Regions from separate parts of the Homo sapiens genome. Here all the other regions are linked to region 2. The links are contacts of gene promoters, found by promoter capture Hi-C in blood cells and fetal thymus (Javierre and others, 2016). All regions are on one chromosome and are shown on one strand. Each heading gives the region's core, a stretch centred on a gene start or on the middle of the fragment in contact. The rest is flanking DNA. Distances are from core to core; before and after follow the strand shown.

Region 1 (2,700 bases), core at 21-2,520, 700 kb before region 2:
GCTTACAATTTCCATTGCAAATGTGATTAGTTTGCTTGAATAAATAGGAATATGATGTGTTGGCCATGTTTTCCTCTTGAGGGTTATCACAGAGTTTTGATTAAGGACAAATGTTTGAAATGTTAGGTATATTTAAGTTCACTGCACTTAAAATGAGCTAAGAAGTTGTATAGGCTTGATTAGAGGGCTGCCTTCGTGAACTTAAATTAAAAGCAATAAATTCCAAATGATTCAAGTGATTGGGACTAAATATGGTATTCTGCCAGAGAAGTTGAAATGCAGTCCAAAGAGACTGAAATGGTGTCCAGGTTTCAAGAAATGGTGAAAGAGGAAAGGTCAAGTGTTGGAGTTGCCTTTCCTCTGGGTTAGTGAATGATTCACATTACACAGAACCCCTTTCAAGTACAACTTCACAGGAGTGACAGGCTCCCAGGACAATCTGTTTCATCGTTCCCAAAAAGAAGCCTCTCAAATGCTCCGAGGCGGGTATCTAAGTGTTGTCAGATGGAGAGAGGGAGGGGGAAGATGGGAATGATGGGAAAGCGGGGAGGGGGAGAGTCCCTGGACTTTTTATTCACAAAGGCGCAGACCAAGTCTCCTAGGCAGTTTCCAAAACGGAAGTCAAAGTAACTTCCCCACCCGCGGGAGGGCGGAGCCCTTGAAACGTAATAGGATCAGGCTTCAGCCCGGGCTCTGGCCCCTGGAAGAAGCCGGAGTCAACAACCAGCGGGGTCAGGAGCAGGAGCGCGCTGGGAAGGTAGAGAGGACCCCCAGCGCTTGCCGGCCCAGGGTGCACCAGGCCCCAGTCGCGCCCGCTCCTCCTCGTCGGCCCTGGCTCAGCCCCGTCAGGCACCAACTTCCCTCCCCGGCCAAGTGGGAGTGTCCGGCCCACAAAGTTTCCGCTGCGAGGTCGGGCCTCGGTCTCTGCACCGACCGCCTGTGCTGCCCGGGAGGAGTGGCCCCCTCCCTCCAGCAGCCGCAAGGTGGAACGGCTGCCCGGCACCCCATTTTGCTCCGCCTGTGGCACCAACCCAGACACGTGAGCGCCCGAGCCTCTCGCACCCCCAGGCTGATCCGGCAGGCGCGCTCCCCCCGGCCTCGGGCCCGCGGTTACCTTGGCGGCCGCCATGATTCGCCCCGGTTGCGGGCGACTGCGGGACCCACTGACTGGCTGGCTGGCGTTTGGGACCCGGGCGGCTCACTTCTAGTCCCGGCGGCGGCGGCGGTGGGGGCGGCGATACGGCCAGGCAGCGTGCGTTCCTGGCCTGCCTCCCCACGCCCTCCCGCCGGCGCGGGTCATGTGGATGCTGCCCGCCCATTGGCTGGGCCCAGCCTTGGCCGCCGGGGTGCGCGTGATCCAGCGGCCTCTGCCCTGCAGCCGGGGAGGGCTCAGATCCTGGGGCAGTGGCTGGACAGGGACACGTGACCCCGCTGCGCTGTCCAGCAGCGGCGGCCTCTGCGGCGTGGGCAGAGGTAACTTGGCCGTGTGCAAGCCCGTCACCTGAGGGCAGGTGGCCCCACCAGGGAAGCTGCTGGCTTCTGCTGATACCAGGGGCTACTGGGCCCTCGGACCGATGGGAGGGGCAAGTAACGACAGATGGTGCACGGCCTGGGGAAGTTGAGAACTCCACTAGGACACATACTTTGCTGGATATTTTTTCCCCTGTGCGTTCCCTTTGAAGGAGCTCCACTTTACACTGGATCCAAAAAGACTTTGATCCAAAAGCATTGACTTAGAAGGCGAGATTGCAAATATTGCTGGCACGCCTACTTTTAGATCAAAATCGGTGAACTCTTAAGAACCCAACAAGTGAATGTAGTGCAGAACGTATATTCATGAAACTACTCCATTTCAGCCCTACCTGTTAAAACGGTAGAAGTCAAAAGGCCCGGGTCAAAAGACTTCCCCCAAATAGGCCCTACTAAAATAAATAAACAAGCATTTTAATGAAAATTTGCTTATATGACCTCCAGGCCTTACTCCTCTTCATCAGGATTTCATTCTTCTGTCCTTGTAATCAAAATTTATAAGACAGTGGTGATCAGGGAAAAGGACTTTTAATGTATTGTAGGTTGTGGATGTAATATGGCAGCAAAAAGCACTTATTACTAATCAGTTTAATTCATTAACGTTGATTGAGTGCCTTCCTACTATGTGCTAGGCACTGTGCTTGGTGCTGGAAACCCCGAAATGACTTAAGAACTGGTTCCAACCGTTAAACAGCTTCAGGGCTATTGGGAAAGAGACACATAAATGTTTACTTCAGTATAACCTGTTAAGGCAGCAGACTGTTCCCAGGGCTCAATAAGAATACTGAGAATTCTCATGCCACTATGAAGAAATACCTGAGACTGGGTAATTTATAAACCAAAAGATTTAATTGACTCAGTTTCGCATGGTTTGGGAGACCTCAGGAAACTTACAGTTGTGGTGGAAGGCACCTCTTTACAGGGTTGCAGGAGAGAGAATGAGTGCCAAGCAAAGGGGGGAAAGCCCCTTGTAAAACCATCAGATCTCATAAGAACTCACTATCACAAGAACAGCATGGGAGTAACCGCCCCCATGATTCCGTTGTCTCTCACCGGGTCCTTCCCATGACATGTGGGGATTATGGGAACTACAATTTAAGATGAGATTTGGGTAGTGACACGGTCAAACCATATCAAAAGGTAACTTGATCTTGAGCTATGGGATTGGGG
Region 2 (2,727 bases), core at 189-2,688:
TGTGGAGGATGAGGGCTGTGGTCTCAATTCTGCCAGAGTAGGGGATGCTAATATTAGCAGGATTATTAATGTGCTGGTGGGAAGAGATCAAACCTTACCAATAAAACCTCTCCGCCGAGCCTCATGCCTTTCTCTTACCGCCCAAGCTCACTAACCCTCTTAAACTCTCTAAGTAAGTTTCAAAGCGGACGAAAAAGGAGGACGGAAAGACAAATTGTGGGCGCCTATGGAGACAGAAAAAAAAATCTATCCTACAACGTGACCCCTCAGCAACCCTCCTCCACCTTTAAATGGCTTTTTGTTTTTGGAAATGCCTGGATAAACCGCAAAACTCTCGGCGCGCTCTTCTCTGGCTGGCTACAACTCCTTAACCCCCCCACCCCCACCCAGCGTGCTCAGGGCACCCGCACCGTGCTAGCTTGTGGCGGCTCTCAAACTAATCCTGACTGAGTTTTTGAGGCAGCCTTCTATTCCCACTCGCACCAACCCAGCACGCTTACCAAAATTCCCAAGTAACCTTCTCTTTGTTACGCAAACGCCAGGAGCTGCTTGATTCTTTCTTCTCTCCACCCCTATCCCCTTTCCAGCCTAGCCGGCTTCCTGGCCGGGCAAGCTGGGAATTCAGCGACTGAAGGGCCTTGGAAGGTGCCGGAGGGGAGAGACGCTAGTTCGAACCTCCACAGGGCTCTCCTACTAAAAATCCCTAAAATGCTGGCCCGAGAAACTCTCTTTGTTGGAGGGTCTGAGTCCTACTCCCTTCTGCCGCGTGCGCCCCCACTGCCGTGAACCGCTGTGACCCCCAATCTACCACCCCATCTCGCGCCCCCAGCGTCCTAGTCGCCCTGTATCTGCCCAGCCTTCCCCCTGTCCATGTACCTGGCTGGTTGGTGGCGCTTGGGACGCGGTTGTAGGCGCCGCCGTACTGGTGGTAGGAGCTAGCGTAGCTATAGTCGGCATAAGCTTTGGCTGGGTAGCTCCCGGCGGAGCCGTTCACGCCGTGATACTGATACTGGTAGGGGTTGAGAGCTTTGCCATAGGAAGCCGAGGTAGGAGAGCAGTAGCCGTGCGGGGCTCCCCCCGTAGGGCTGTAGTAGTCAGAATCGGTAGCTGAAGACTCGGGCAAAGTTGGCGATTCCTGAGACGGATGGTGCATAGCTGCGGACGTCTGGAACGGAGCTTGGAAGTCGCCGGATCGGATGCTGGGGACCCTTCTGTCAAACACTCCTGTCATCGCTCACGGGCGGCGGCAGCGGCTGTCCTTGCTGTTGTGGCGGCGGCAGCTGCCCTAGTTGGCTGTGGGGCTGCTCTGGTCTAAGCAGACATGGCTGTGGGAGCGAGGGAGGAGGAGGAAGAGGAGGAGGAGAGAAGGAGGAGGCGGCGGCCGCGGCGAGGAGGAGACTGGGAGTCGTGAAGTCTCTGTCTCCGGCCGGCTGACTGCTGGCTGAGGCGCAGCACAGCCTTGGTTAAATCCTTAATTGCGCGCTTACGCACAGCGGGGTGGATCTGGTTCTATTGGCCAGGGCCTCGGGAGCAACAGTAACACCCTAACTCGTCCAACTAGTTTTAGCACAACAAAGCATTGCTTAAAAAGGGGGTGGGGGGTACTGAGGGGGTGTGTGTGTTTGTGTGTGTGCGCGCCCGCGCGCTTGTGTGTGTTTTTGCTTGTTGTGGAGTGGGGAGGGGTCTTAGTCTATCTGTTTTTAGTAAATTCCAAAGACATCGCAGAAGCCACAGCACAAGGCTCTGTGATGTCTGGGGACAATGTGTTCCAATCAGAAGCCTCAAAAGTGCACATGTTTTGGGAATGAGGTGGGCGACCATCTTTCCTTGCTTCCCACTACCCCGCCCCCGTGGGCTGCACCAAAGGCGAGTGTAGAATTAAACACTGATACTGAAATAGGGAGTCAAGGTGCAGGGAGTGGGGAGCGGGGGGATGTAGGATGGAGGCAAGAAGGAAGGGAAACAGCATTTTTTTTTTTTTTAGTGGAGTGTTGGGAAGCAAGTTGTAACTTACATGTTTTGAAAATTTGCTCTTTGGGGAAAGAGGCAACTTCCTTTGCAGGAGATGAGTATCTCCCGGACGCGGGCTGGACAGGAATGCCCAAGAAGGCACAATGTCCATTAAGCCGGTGAATGGCAGGGAGAGTTCCTGCAGCCCAAAGTCCTTATAATGACTTTTAAAAATTACTGTCTTAAACACATATAACTTAAGGAAGCCCAAATCCTCGTTGCTGGCTTGCAAAAAGAGCCAAACAGCTCCACTTCTGTTTAATATTTTCATCTATTTTCAAGACATTGGAATAAAGGCTCTTTAACTATGTTCAGTGGCCAAAGACTCCCGCAAAGGTGAATGGATCCATGTATAACCTGCCATACCTCCAGGAAAGAATGGGAAAGTCTCGGAAGTGGGGAAGGAGACAAGGATCAAAGCCTTTGCAAAGTCAGATGATGCTCATTGATTTCCCCCTCCTGGCTCCATGAATGTGGCCCAGTCTCTCCATTTCCCAGACCCGGGTTTCTGTACCCTCTCCCCTTTATTTCCTGCTGCAAAGACATCCTACTTAGCTCGTATGCAAGGGAAGAAAGGATTCAAGAATCATTCAGTTGATACACGAGATCTAAACTTTGCTCTTCAGGAGGTGCTATCCTTGTTCTAGTCGTGATTCAGCTGGGAGTTTAGAAATTCAGCATAAAAGTCTCTCCCAATCCCCATTGTTACTCCCCTCA
Region 3 (2,700 bases), core at 91-2,590, 890 kb before region 2:
ATCTTGGATGGTAAATCACCTGCCCAATCAATCCAAAGTGGGGAAAAAACCAGTCCTGAAGGATGGTGCTGATAAAGAAGTCAGGGCCAGGGCAGGTCTTTTTGCATGCTAATTCCTGCTTATTCTAGCTGTACCTGCAAACACAGCTCTAAACAGACTATTTCTAATACAGGGAAAGGTAATTACACTCACAAAGGCACCTCTGTGTCGGGCCGGGCACCAGGAGCCAGCAGGTCTGGGAGACGGAGGCTTAACAGAGACTCCAGCAGTGAATGCACATTGTCTAGCACGGGGAAAATGCCAGACTGGGGACCCTGCAGCATTCAAGACAACAGTGGTGCACCTTGTCTGAGAAGGTTATTCAATGCTTCTGGCACCTGTCGTCAGAGCCACCCAGCCCTCTTTTCCTACCTTACAGGTTTAGAATTTATTTGGCATGTATAATTATATATTTTGATCCCAGAGCTACAAACAATGGGCAGCATGTCATGACTTGATCCCTTAGCATTCCTCTTGGCTTCCCCCAAGCAAGTTAACCCTTAGATACACAGCTTGGCAGTGCCTCTCCAGCCCAGTCAAAGGATGGTTAGACCCCACCTACATGGCTGAGATTTGAGGAGGGTGAGTTTGAGTGTCTTGCTGAGAAATAGCAATGGTGCCAAGACCTATTATGTGATTGTGTCACTTGTGTTAAAACCAAATAAGCCAGCCAACATTTGAAGACTTGATATCAGTGAACATGGAAATTACTTCAATTTGAATATGAAATATGAATGACTATTACTTGGCTTCTTTAATCCAGGGACTTTAGGGATATGGGTTCTCCTTAATTTCATTGCAATTCTAACAAAATCATCTTGACAACTCTGTTTCTTGTAGGAAATGCTGCTTGGGTCAGTGCTAGTTCTCTATTGTTCTAGTATTGTACACTGCTTTGCCATCAACAATGCTCATCACTGAGATGGACTGAAAATCCTAGACATGGTACAGAGGAATGTTATCACATGGAATTTTAGTCCTGAAGCTGCTAGTCATGTCACCTTCACAAAGCTCATCTGTAAAACATGTTCCACCTTTTCTTTATTTCTTTATTATTATTATTTTTTGAGACAGTGCTGGAGTGCAGTGGTGCAATCTTGGCTCACTGCAACCTCCACCTCTGGTTCAAGCAATTCTCCTGTCTCAGCCTCCCAAGTAGCTGGGACTACAGGCGTGCGCCACCATGCCCAGCAAATTTTTGTATTTTTAGTAGAGATGGGGTTTCAACATGTTGGCCAGGATGGTCCTGACCTTTTGACCTTGTGATCTGCCCGCCTCAGCACTCTCTGCTGTGATTCTGGGGGCTGCCTGATTCACGAATCATTCATTGTACAATTAAACTCCCTTACTTTGGCTGAAGTTTTACTTTTAACAAGACTAAACATTTACCACTTTTTTTGCTATTCATTCCTGACACATCTCCACCTGGGATCACCTTCCAGAATTTCCTTCATTAAGGTTCTACTGGTGACACACTTTCTGAGTTTTGCTAGTCTAAAAAATATCTTTACCCTTGTTCTTAAAAGCAATTTTTACAGGGTATACAAGTCTAGGTTGAAAAGTTTTTTTCCTCCACATACTGAAGACACCCCATTCAACTGTCTTCTGGCTTCCACTGTTGCCATTTTTAGGTTAGCCGTCAGTTCAACTGTTGCCCCTTTGAAGGCAAATTGACTTTTTTTCTCTGGCCACTAAAGAGCTTCTCTCTAGCTCTGGTGTTCAGCAGTTTTCCTCTGATGTGTCTAGTCTGGATTATTTTCAATTATCCTACACCTGCAATTTGTTGCATTTTTTTCTTTTTCTTTTTTTTTTTTTTTGAAACAGAGTCTTGCTCTATCACTTAGGTTAGAGTGCAGTGGTGCAATCATGGCTCACTGCAGCCTTGACCCCCTGGGCTCAAGTGCTCTTCCCCCCTCAGCCTCCCAAGTAGCTGGGACTACAGGTGCATGACACCATGTCTAGCTAATTAAAAAAATATTTTTGTGTAGAGATGAGGTCTCACTATGTTGCCCAGGCTGGTCTTGAACTCCTGCACTCCCAAAGTGCTGGCACTAGAATTATATGTTTCTCTTCTCTTGCCCCTTAACATAGATCATTTTTAAGGCAATGATACTGTACACATCTTTGGTACTCTAGCATCTAATAGTGTTAGCATTCAATATACATTTGGTGAAAGAATAAAAGAATGGTTAAAAAAATTGATCATTTGCTGTTACTTTAAGGAATCCTTTTTTTCTGGTGTCTTTAGCACACTCAATTCCTCTGGGCATTGTTTTATAAAAATAATATTTTTCAAGCCATCTCCTTTTAATTTGCTATTCTAAAGTTCAAAGCAGAAGACCTGGCCTGGAGAGGTTGTTGACCACACAGCATTGGAAATTACCCAGGACTGGAATAATGTGGAAGAAACTAGGTATTCCTGCAAGAATCCCTTAGTTGACACTCAATAATGAAAAGTTGATAACAACTAACACATCATGTGTACTATGTGCTCAACTCTATCCTGTATGCTTTACATGCATTATTTTAGTAAATCCACACAACGATACTATGAATAGGTAGGTATGATTATTATCCTCTTTCTACACACGAGTCAATGATTCATCTGAAGCACAGGGGAAGTTTCGTAAAAAGAAAAATTTTTTTTTCAAACTAAGTATT
Region 4 (2,700 bases), core at 71-2,570, 910 kb before region 2:
TCCCCATCTTATAGAATAGACTGTAGCACATTTGCACTAGTCTGTTCTGGGATCTTGAGTTCACTTTAAAATCACTTAAAGAAATGCTCCACTGCAAAATGGAGCATCCTCTGAAGGGCCGAAGCCCTGTCCAAAGCAGCGGTAGGCACTGGAGCCTTAGTGGCCAGACCAGTGTGCTGGGGGTGTGTCTGTGACCCAGGAGAAGTGAGGCTCAGAAAAGCACAATTACTGCGTCTTCTTAATTTTCCTTCTAAAGTTATTCGACGGGACTGTGGTTTTGCTTTGAGCAAAACCCGCTTAACGGCTGGGAATCTAAAAGCAAACAACATTATTTTATTAGGTTACCCTAGCAGATGAAAGCAGAGTGTTCCATTTGGACTCTTTTTGGAGTCAATTAATGCATTAGCTAAAAACAAACCCTTTTAAAAGAGAGTTCCTGTTGTCTTCAGCAGCTTCGAAGGGAAAGCTTCAGAAACAAGAGAGGTGAGCTGTAAACAAGTAATACATTCATTGATAAGAACAACTATTGTACTAATACATTTCAACTCGTGTTAGAATGTAAAACTCATCTCAGAGGATGATTTTTTTAAAGTTTTATTTTTAACCAAGACCAGGGAATTTAAATTTATCATATAGTTTATGTGACAATGCCTGACTCAACTAAAGTCAATTTTAAATAGCTTTAGTTGTTTTAATAAAATATTTATTTATGACTTGTAAAGTAAGTGATCAGTACATAAAACTGTGATTGTTTTCAGTTATGGTTTTAACTCCAGCAATAGAAAAGGCCTATAAAGTAGGACAATAATGGAGATCACTCATTTGGGAAAAAAATACGAATAGTTTATTTCCACCCTCACAAACTCATGTGCCTCTGACCATTATGCAAGGCACCATGAAATTAAATACTTATGTCAGAATATATTTGTCTTCCATGATTCAAGATAAAGTGAATTTTAAAAGCAAATGGGTGCCAATGATGGGGAGATGAGGGGAATAGGGCAGGCAGCAACAGGGTAACATGCATTTTTCAAGAGTGTTTCTCAAAAATTCATCCATTCATCCATCCTTCAAAATAATAACTAGGAGCCTCTACTAAGAGAATCAGAGACACAATCCCAACCATCATGGATCCCGATCTGGACTTTCAAGCTGAAGACTGCCACTGTTTTAAGAGACGGAGGTGGCCGGGCGCAGTGGCTCACACCTGTAATCCCAGCACTTTGGGAGGGTGAGCCAGGCGGATCACCTGAGGTCGGGAATTCGAGATCAGCCTGGCCAACATGGAAAAACTCTGTCTCTACTTAAAATACAAATAATGAGTCGAGTGTGGTGGCATATGCTTGTAATCCCAGCTACTTGGGAGGCTGAGGCAGGAGAATCGCATGAACCTGGGAAGTGGAGGTTGAAGTGAGCCGAGATTGCACCACTGCACTCCAGCCTGGGCAACAAGAGCAAAACTCCATCTCAAAAAAAAAAAAAAAAAAAAAAAAAAAAAAAAAAAAAAAAAAAAAAGGCAGAGGTGACAATGCTGTTAGATGCCTCAGACATTAAAATGAAGCAATGAACTCCCCATGGTCTTCCTAACATAACAGAACTCTTTGGTGAAGGTTATTCCCCAAAGGTAAAACAAAAGGCACACACTCCTTTGTGGGCAGTACCATTTGTGGAAAGAACATTTCACTGCTCTGACCAGGGAACGTGTCTCTTAAAAATCTTTGGAAAAATCCACATCCTGAAAGCATTTGATTACCCTGATTTGAAAATGGGATTTTGCTCAGTGGCAAGGATACAAATTCATCCCCACAAGTATGCCTTCTGCGGTAAAAGGCACATGATGACTTTTAGGGACAGTTTATTTGGAAGGTTGATAAATGGGGCCATAAGACAGGACTCATCAAATTTCTTTTTTGAGATCTCCCTCTACCTGAAGCATTCCAGCATGACTTGCATTCTGAATACCTAGTTGGAGGAGGTTACAAACAGTTTCAAGCGCCATTTGTTCCCGTTTTGATTCCCCACTCGCTGGGTTATGTGCTGTTAGACATTTCCAGAAGACTGTCAAAATGTAAGCATCCTGAGGTTTACATAGGCCACGCCATTAAATAACATATAAGCACAACATTTTAAACATTGTTTTCCAGCAATGGTAAATATTTTAGCTAAGTAGAAACTAAAGCTTGAAATGCAATAAGCACTTAAATGACTCCTTTCTGTGCCAGAATTCTTATTTTCCTCTGTGCGACCCTGGCTTCTGGGATTAAGGCAACCCCAGGGAGCTCAGCAAATGGTTGTGGGTTACGAGGTGTAGCAGGAGCTTGGCGACAGCATGCCACCCAGCCTCAAGAAACCCAGCCATGACTGGAACCCAAGAATCAGTGTGTTCACTTTGTGGTCAGCTTCACATTTTTCCCCTCCTTGAAAAAAAAAAAAAGCTGCTATGAAAATCAGACCTCTCTCCCAACCCCCAAGGAATCACGTGGTGGACCAGGAGCAGAGTGGAGACTCGGGGCAGGCAGAGCAGAGGAGGCTGGCCCCCTCACGTAGGCAGGCAAGCAGGCAGGCATGTGGGAGTTACCAGCTTCAGTTCCTCAGCCCTACAGAGGGAAACGACCCACGGCACCAACAACAGCCACACCACTGACGACGACAACGGATTGTGCTGTCACCAGAAAGAAGGGAAACCCAGAGCGAATTTTA
Region 5 (2,700 bases), core at 66-2,565, 990 kb before region 2:
ATGGCTTTCCCAACGGGAGACGTCAATAACTTCGTGGTTGGCAGTGAGGAAGGTACAGTCTACACGGCTTGTCGTCATGGAAGGTGATTTTTCTGTTTCTTTACTGATGACATGTTCTTCATTTCCGAAAGTCTGTTATCACATTCTGGATTTTAACCACCTTGCATTATGAGAAAGCATCTCTGGAAAAATGGAAAGCACGACTTCAACTCTTCATTATCTTAAAGAGCTGCATCTGCTCTGGTCATTAGCTGTTCATAAGACTGTGGTGGTTCACACTGCCTTGAGGGAAAAAAGCTCGAGCTTCTGAGCCTATCATAACAGACCACTTGCACCTTCCCAGCATCTCCGCATACCTTCAGGGTCTAGCCATGTGCCCATCAGAGATAACAATCCCCAAATATTTCTTATCCCTCCATGCCTCAATGAGTTTGCATACTCAACTTCTTTTACCAGTTCTAGCATTTCTCCCTTTTTGGCCTGGTTAATTCCTCCTCATCATTCAAGAGCCAGCACAGAGATCATTCCATGTGAAACATTTTCTGACTCTTGGGCAAAGAAAACCACTCCCACCTTTAAGTCCCATAGAATTTTCAATTCTCTTATTCATTCACTCTTCCAAGGAATATTTACTAAGAACCTACCATGTGCCAGGCATCATCAAAAGGATACATTAAAGAACAAGACAGACCTAGAGTTCATATTCTAGTTGAGGGTAAAATACTAATAAGCAAATAAATATATAGTTTAGGATGGTAAGTGCAATGGAGAAAATTAAAGTAGAATAAGTGGGATAGGACTATAGGCTGTCAAGTTGACAATTTCATATATTTTCCTTATGCTTCTATAATAGCATTAATCGTATTTTAGTTTATTCATTCATCTGCCATTTTTCTCTTACTACATTATTTCCATTTCATCTTTGATTTCCTGCACAGTACCTAGGACATAGTAAGTGAGGAGCTAAAAATATATATTGGGGATAAAGAAATGATATATAATGTAATCCATCCAATCTAAAGAAGTGCCTTAAAAGCTTTCCTCCCAGTCAGATGGGTCAGAACAGAGTGAGTCACACAAACCACCATGCAGTTCCCAGGTGATAAGAACTCTACCTTAACTGAGAGATTCACAATGCCCCTGGAAAAGAGTTGTCAGTATAAAGTGGAATCCAATAGTTTGGACTAGATTGTAAAATTGCATGCAAAACTTAACAGGTGGCCTCATGTCTTTTGAAAGGGTCACTATGTTCACACTGGTGCTTAATTTGTCTTTTACTTTAGTAGTTCTTATTCCATTGATTTTTTTTCATCTCTTGCACTCATCCGAGGCTATTAAGATTTAATGAAGAACCACAAATTGTTCCAAGTTCATATCCCTGTGTTTTTGTGATTTGTAGAAATGACAAGCATCCATGGCTCAGCTATGTGACTTTTTCCATTCAAACTATACAAGCTGTTATGTTCCTGCTGTTCTGCACGTAGAAACAAGCAGTATTTGTCCCCTCACATGATTCAAAGATGACTTAGGAAGATATGCCTCACAGTCCATTCCCAATGATCCTCCTTCATAAACCCTGGCTAAAACCACACATTAAAGCTTTATCAAAGCATAAAAATATTTGATAAAGTTATTCATTCATAAATATATTTGTTGTATGCCTACTTTGAGCAAAGTGCATTGTTAGGTTCTGCAAGGCCTGCAGACGTCATGTAAACCTGGTTTCTCTCTTCAAAATAACTGATGACGGTGAGAAAGATAAATACACAAATATCTGGAACATGAGTAGAATGTCTTAAGTGGCATGAGAGGCATAGAGAGTATAGTAGGCCAGACCTGGAGTCACAGCTTTATCTATATGCGTATTAGAATCAACATGGCATAGGTTCAGTTAACTTAACCCATGGTTTTACCTAGGTCCTTGATTATCTACGAAGGCTATAGAATACATTCATTGATAATTTCCAGATTTTTTTCATTGCTATAAAGTGAATAACATTTTACATGATGAACATTCTTGTTCTGTGGCTACTGTACTTTCTAAGCACTATCAGAATATGCACTTTGGTTCAAAAGAAGGGTCCCTATGGCACACACCACAAATCTTTTTACAACAAGCTGAATTTTGCTTTACATTGGTCCATCCATCTGAAATATAAAATACAGACCTTAGTAACATTGTAACGTAGCAGGCATTGGCTTTGTAGTCATTCTAAATGGGTCATATAGGTCTATGGGGGAGAAGCAGGGGATTGCTATTTTTCACCTAACATAGAGAAGGTGCAAATCCACTTCCATAAATTAAACAAGGTCCTCATTTTGCACCCTATAAATCCTTTCAGGATGCTGTTAAGAGCAAGTGGAGTCTCACCAGGGGCCACTTCAAAGATCAGTTCCTCGGGTTCATTAGAACAAATTTAAATGATCATGTGTGGAACTGCTCTTAGCAGTTTCACTGGGCATAATTTTTGAGTGCCTGTTACATGGAACACGCACTGCCACACTTTGCTCATGATTCCAAATTTTGCTAAGCACATTGACATTTATTGGTGCTCCAGAGGCCCAAATGTTTTAATAACTGAGCTCGTTTTTATTCTTAGTGACATAATATTAGGATTCTACAATTCCTACATATTTGTCATATTTATAACCTCATGCACATGAATATTTTAAATATAGCATTTTTGGTATGTTTTCTCA

The links. The method cuts DNA at HindIII sites, captures the fragments that hold promoters and counts their contacts. A CHiCAGO score of 5 or more calls a contact.
Region 1: the fragment with the promoter of SLC25A13 here is called in contact with the fragment with the promoter of DLX5 in region 2 in 1 of 17 cell types (M0 macrophages); the score reaches 5.7 in M0 macrophages.
Region 3: a fragment that was not itself captured here is called in contact with the fragment with the promoter of DLX5 in region 2 in 1 of 17 cell types (total CD4 T cells); the score reaches 5.2 in total CD4 T cells.
Region 4: a fragment that was not itself captured here is called in contact with the fragment with the promoter of DLX5 in region 2 in 1 of 17 cell types (M2 macrophages); the score reaches 5.6 in M2 macrophages.
Region 5: a fragment that was not itself captured here is called in contact with the fragment with the promoter of DLX5 in region 2 in 1 of 17 cell types (endothelial precursors); the score reaches 5.3 in endothelial precursors.

Annotation. Positions count from the first base shown.
Region 1 is chr7:96,320,828-96,323,527 of GRCh38, forward strand. It overlaps SLC25A13 (solute carrier family 25 member 13), which reads right to left and starts at 1,271. Exons shown (of 18, transcript NM_014251.3): 1 at 1,115-1,271. The coding sequence starts at 1,129. RefSeq lists a silencer at 1,067-1,406. The HindIII fragment of the contact is 9,010 bases long and covers 1-2,700 here.
Region 2 is chr7:97,023,393-97,026,119 of GRCh38, forward strand. It overlaps DLX5 (distal-less homeobox 5), which reads right to left and starts at 1,439. Exons shown (of 3, transcript NM_005221.6): 1 at 877-1,439. The coding sequence starts at 1,231. RefSeq lists enhancers at 945-1,661, 2,588-2,727. The HindIII fragment of the contact is 4,218 bases long and covers 959-2,727 here.
Region 3 is chr7:96,136,558-96,139,257 of GRCh38, forward strand. The region is part of intron 14 of SLC25A13 (solute carrier family 25 member 13); the gene reads right to left. Among named protein-coding and RNA genes, the nearest start is that of MIR591, 82 kb to the right of the region's middle. RefSeq lists an enhancer at 11-604. The HindIII fragment of the contact is 3,047 bases long and covers 1-2,700 here.
Region 4 is chr7:96,116,208-96,118,907 of GRCh38, forward strand. No RefSeq gene overlaps it. Among named protein-coding and RNA genes, the nearest start is that of MIR591, 100 kb to the right of the region's middle. The HindIII fragment of the contact is 1,713 bases long and covers 465-2,177 here.
Region 5 is chr7:96,035,670-96,038,369 of GRCh38, forward strand. It overlaps DYNC1I1 (dynein cytoplasmic 1 intermediate chain 1), which reads left to right. Exons shown (of 17, transcript NM_001135556.2): 13 at 1-83. Among named protein-coding and RNA genes, the nearest start is that of MIR591, 180 kb to the right of the region's middle. The HindIII fragment of the contact is 563 bases long and covers 1,035-1,597 here.